2 separate regions of the Homo sapiens genome follow, and region 2 is linked to region 1. Evidence: promoter capture Hi-C in 16 types of primary human blood cells and fetal thymus (Javierre and others, 2016). All regions are on one chromosome and are shown on one strand. The core of a region is centred on a gene start or on the middle of the fragment in contact, and the rest is flanking DNA. Distances in the headings are between cores, read along the strand shown.

Region 1 (2,724 bases), core at 125-2,624:
TACAGTGAGAGGAGCAATCAAGAGGACAAGTCACCTTGGGCCTGCAGGCCATGACAAGGAACTGGATTTTAAGAGCAATAGGAAGTCACTAAATTTTAGTGTCCAAAAGGTTTTAGGCAAGGGAACGAGATGATCTCCGTTTTAAGATCGATCTTGCTACAGTTTGTAAAACTGCCTAAGGATGGTAAAAGACTGAACCTGAGATTTCATTTAGAAGGAAACTAGCGTAGAGCAGGTGAGAGATGATGGTGGCATGGTCTAGATTAAGAAAGGCCCTTGGGAAAATTAACGGCCCTGCCCTAATATTTTTGCAGAAATGATCCTTTATGATTGTGCTGCACAAATCCCAAATGAGGTGAAGGATGTTGTCTTGTCCTATTATGAACTTTTCTGGGGAAAATGCTCTCTCCAAAATCAACATAAAATTAGATCTTTGTCAGTTCTAAGTATTAGAACATAAAATCTTAACCAAAGTTGTTAAACTCAAAATAGATTTTCAGCATGTAATTTTCATTTTCTGGAAGGTGATTAGGAATCTTTCCAAAGAGATGACACATGGCTTGAGAACTGGGGGCGGGAAGTCAAAGGAAGCAGCCATTAGGTCTCCACGCTGAAAGAATAGCTAAGTGCAGAGGCCTTGAGAAGGGAATGAAATGGCCACGTTCAAGGAACAGAGGCAGCCCACTGGCTGTAGCAGAGTAAATATCCATGGTATGTGGTCCACATTTACTGAATGTCCAAGACATGTCTTCTAATTCGTCTGTCACCAAAGTGGTCATAAGCAGTCGCCATCAATAAGAAACAAGCAGAGAAAGGGCCTACAGTTCAATTTATTTTTCAGTTGCCTCACAAAAGGCTAAGAAAAACTTAGTTTCTGGTGAACCCAGGTAGACATGCTCATTTTAAAGAGAATGAATATATCTAGGAAGAGCCTGGCAGTATATTCCCAAAGGCGTGACAATAAAGTTCCTTAACGTGTAGTCAGCACCCTCAAACGTCAACACGTCTGGAAAATTCGGAAGCGTTTCCTCCTGTCAGCGGCCCTTCAAGCTACCTCATACAGGGCAGCCTCTCCTACCCAGACCCGGAGCCTATCAATCGACGAGAAAACAGCTTCCCCTCACTGGGCGGTGCGAACCAACTCTGCACGATCAAGTCGGATAGAGGACTGGCAACCGCGGGCACTACAGGGCAGTCCTTAACGTCATATCCGGTTGTCAGCTCGGCCGCCTCCGCCTAACCAGAAGTCGCAGATGTGACGATGCAAAAACGCCCGTCGGGGGCGCGTCTCTTTCAGCAGCCAATGGGCTCTGCCCACCTTCGTCCTCGTCAGCATTTTGTCTAATCGCGGCCTGTGACGCTCGAAGGGCGGGGAGCAGAGGGAGATACAGAAACCGACAGGGGCCAGGCGCCCGGTGGCTCCGAAGCGGGGAAGTGGGACAAGATGGTTTACATCTCGAACGGTAAGTTGAGAGCGGGCTGTGGCTTCGACCGGTGACTTGTAAGATCGGACTCCAGGTTCCTTTCATCGTCGCTCGCTGAGTCTTGAGCCCGGTGCGGCTTCCCCGGGCTTAGCGCCCCGCGGCCGGGCGGAGCTGGACCGAAGTCGCCTCGGCTTGCGGCGCGTCAGCCGATGGTCTCTGAGCCGGCAGTCGGGGGCCGAGGTCCCGCCGGCCTCACGTTGAGTACTGGGAGCCCTGCAACCCCGCCTTCGTGCAGCAAGCGCTTGATTGTGGATTTGCGAGGGTGGTCTTTCCTCTCTCGGGTGTCGGTATCCTTAAAACTAGTAAGGACAATGATGCCGACGCTGTACACGTAGCGCTTGTGCCCTGGACAGTGTTTCAGTTATTTGCTTATCGTCACATTCAATCCTGTTTTACGGGTGGAAACTCTGAGGCTCAGATAGATTAAATAGCTTGCCTGGGCTATTTAAGTCACAGAGGTAACTTAATGGCTGAGTCGGGATTCGATCACAGGTAGGCTGACGTCAGCGTCCTTGTTATCTGTTATGCTGCCTCTGTCTACAACGTGTAAAAAGACCGAGCCGACCTAGGATGATAATTAGATGAAAGCTTTGCATAGGCTTTTTCCCCAGGAAAGGGTAGCTAGTCAAACATGGAATTTTTTGCTCGAATTTCAAGGGGCATGGGAAGAAGTACTATCTTCCCCTAGGAGCAAGTTAATTATTACCGGAATGGAGAATCCGAGAGACTTAATTCTGCGAACCCACAAAGAAGATGACCGGAAAGGAAGGACATGACTGTGTCAGATCAGTGCTAGAGCTGCCTGCCCACCTGTTTGACTCAGGTGAAATTCTTTGGTACAGTCTTAACAAGGAGTTGTGGATCATTGGAACTAGGTCTTGGTTCTATTTGAGTCATCTGTTTTTCTCCAGAGACGAGTAAGGTAGTCAGTGAGGAGCCTTCTGGCTGACTGCACTTTTGCATTTCTTGACTTTTAAAAATCTCCCCTTCTCATCTCCCACTTAAAAATCTTTGAAACAAGTAGATTGATGGACACTACAGAAAAGCATCAAAATTTCATCTTAGTTTTGGGCGCTTTCAGACTTTAGTCTGTTTTATAGCCTGTTTTATAGCCTTTGTGATATAAGCTTAAGGCTGGAAGCTTCTGTATGAATTATTGAATAATTCCTTGTATTTGTTGTGTCTTACTGTGTTCGCATTATTTCATTTGGTCCACATAAGTAGCCGATTAGGACTCTTT
Region 2 (2,724 bases), core at 61-2,560, about 28 Mb before region 1:
GATCTGTGGGTCTGTTATTAATAGTTGTCCTGCTTCGGGTTTTTATTTTTTTTTAATTTTCTTCCTTTTTTAGTGCTTTATATTTTACAAATGTCTGCAGCAGTTTTTTGTCATCTTTATGGAAAACAAGGCACGTCTTAAAGTCGTTCAAGTCCTTCACTTTTTCACACTGAGGTCTGTCTTCATATCCACTTATCTTTCAAGTCTATGAAACCCCTTATAAAAACTTTCCTTTGAAATATTTTAAAATTCAAGGCCCACGGCTGATTAATACTGTTTCTCCTCCATAACCCCTAGGATCCTCCAGTTCTGGGTTTTAACAAGAAAAATATCCTCAATCCTCTCTAGTTTCTAGGTGTAAAGCAGCTTGGACCCTCCTGGGTTTGGTGGGTCCATCTCTCTTGGAGTCCAACTCTGTATTCCTAAAAAGCAATTATTGAAATAGAAGCTAGTCAGTTAATGGCAATAAAAGAAGGGAATTCCAAGTGGGAGCTTCCCAAGCCAAGAGGAAGAGAGGTTTCTTGCCTTATCACTGTAAGTGGCAGAGTGGAGTTCCAATTCAATGATATCATTTGTGTTATCAAAGGTAGTTTAATCGTTGAAAAGCTTGTTAACAATTATAAACACAGGCAAATGCCTTTTCCTTTTTGGCCTTACGGAGAATGAGAAAAGTTCTTCCCATGGCTAAAATTCTTAGCTGTTGGTAATGCAGAAAAGAGTACCAGAACAGCAGAATTCCAACGGTATTCCAGGATTCTGTGTCTTGGTTAATTTTAAATTCACGTGACCTGGCAAACTTAGGAGAGTCCTGGTTGTAAGAGGTATTAACATTTTCAGCAGTAGTACTCTAGCTACACTTGACTGTTCCCCTCTCTGTGAATTTACATGATATGTTTGAAATACTGCCCCTCAAAAGTCTCAGAACTTTGAGAAATACGGTCCTTTCCAAAAAAACCCCTTATGTCCAATTTGAAGGGGTCGCTGTCAGTGGGTGCTTAAGTGGGTAAAGAAAAGCCAAGAATATGTCAGGGTGAGGAAGGCCAAGGCTGAGCGAGGTCAGCTTGGGACCCACCTCCTAGAATGACCTCCGCCAGCAGGAAAAAACCGTTAAGGGGAGGAAAGGGCAGGTCCCTGCGGCCTCCAGGTGCCAGCCGCGTGAGTGGGCGGAGAGGCCTCGGTGCCTCCTACCCGCTCCGGACGTGCGTCCCGGCATCACCCCGGGATCCGCTCCTCCCCGCTGGCGGGGGGAGAAAGGGCAGGAGGCCTTCCGTCCCGGCTATAAAGGGCCCCGGACCGCCGCGGCTCGCCTCGGCTTGCCTCGACACGCCTAGGCGCCCTCCGGCTCCGCCCTAGCCGCCGCGTCCCAGCTAGAGCTCCAGCGCCCGCTCAGGCCCCACTCGACCTCTCGGGCCTCGGCTACTTGGACTGCGGCGGAATATGGCGGCTCCGATGACTCCCGCGGCTCGGCCCGAGGACTACGAGGCGGCGCTCAATGCCGCCCTGGCTGACGTGCCCGAACTGGCCAGACTCCTGGAGATCGACCCGTACTTGAAGCCCTACGCCGTGGACTTCCAGCGCAGGTACCGCCGGAATCCCACCACCCCCACTTAGACAGGCAGCCCGCCTCCCAGGAGCCGTCTCGGGACACGGGCCGCCCCTCGGCCCTCGCGCGCCAACCCCGCCCCAGGCGGGGAGGAACCTGAGTGGGCGGGGCTCGGGGTGACTCGGGTAACCGGGTTCTGTGGCTTCCGTAGTGGCAGGTTTGACAGCGCTGGTGCCCGGAGCGGGCGCTGAAGAAACTTCTTTCCTCATCCCCTTTCCCCTCTGTTCTAATCAGCGGTCTTGCGCCATAGGGTACGTGCTGTGGCTCCAACACTTATTCCCCAGAGTGCTGCTGGGGAGTGACTCACCGCCGCTGCAGGTTTTCTGACTTTGGCACCCACTAGCGTGGGCCTGTGGAGTAACGTGGGCATAACTCCTGGCACGTGTAATTACGCATTTAAAACTTTCTAGTTTATTTCATAGCAAATGTTGTGATTTTATATCTAAGAGGATTCCTTCAGGCAGACACTATATCCTTTTGTTTTTTCCTTGCTAATATTCCTCATTTAGGGGAAGATTACACCTACATTGATCAATTTTTTCTCCCCTTGGATCAACATTGAGAAGTTAAATGTACATCAACATTTGTCCGTGTGTGACTTTAACCATCTTGAAGAGGGAGAAAGGTCAGGAAAGCAACTTTTACAGGCCAATGTCGTTTTAGCTTGTCTTCTACCATTGTGTACCATACAACTTTAGTTACTGGGCTAATAATTCTATTCATAAGTTCCACTAAAAAGGTACAGGTCTTTTTCTGTTGTCGTTGTTGTTTGAAGTAAAAGAGCTATTATACAAGTTGTAATAGTTATACTTGTGAGGTTACCCCATTTTGATTTAATAGTTTCTCCCCTTTTAGGAGAGACACTGCAGAATGGAAACTATCCTGGCAACAGAATATACATGGCCAATTTTTCGAGTGATGGAAAACATCCAACTAGTTAACTGGCATGAAGGAGCGTTGAGAGTAATGAAAATGGGTTGATTTGGAGTTTGAAAAAAGCCCAGCAAATTGTTTGTGTCCTAGCATTTTCAGGTATTAAATGCATTCAAATCAGCAAGTGTTTATTGAGGAACTCCTATAAATAAAACACTGCTCTAGGGATTGTAAGGGATGTGAAGTTT

The links. The method cuts DNA at HindIII sites, captures the fragments that hold promoters and counts their contacts. A CHiCAGO score of 5 or more calls a contact.
Region 2: a contact is called between the fragment with the promoter of GBE1 here and the fragment with the promoter of SELENOK in region 1, in 1 of 17 cell types (total CD4 T cells). The highest score is 6.6, in total CD4 T cells.

Annotation. Positions count from the first base shown.
Region 1 is chr3:53,890,509-53,893,232 of GRCh38, reverse strand. SELENOK (selenoprotein K) reads left to right here and starts at 1,374. Exons shown (of 5, transcript NM_021237.5): 1 at 1,374-1,463. The coding sequence starts at 1,445. RefSeq lists enhancers at 1,096-1,395, 1,286-2,186. The HindIII fragment of the contact is 7,183 bases long and covers 1-2,074 here.
Region 2 is chr3:81,760,231-81,762,954 of GRCh38, reverse strand. GBE1 (1,4-alpha-glucan branching enzyme 1) reads left to right here and starts at 1,310. Exons shown (of 16, transcript NM_000158.4): 1 at 1,310-1,580. The coding sequence starts at 1,438. RefSeq lists silencers at 1,082-1,181, 1,682-1,761 and enhancers at 837-1,445, 1,232-1,521, 1,862-2,031. The HindIII fragment of the contact is 5,689 bases long and covers 609-2,724 here.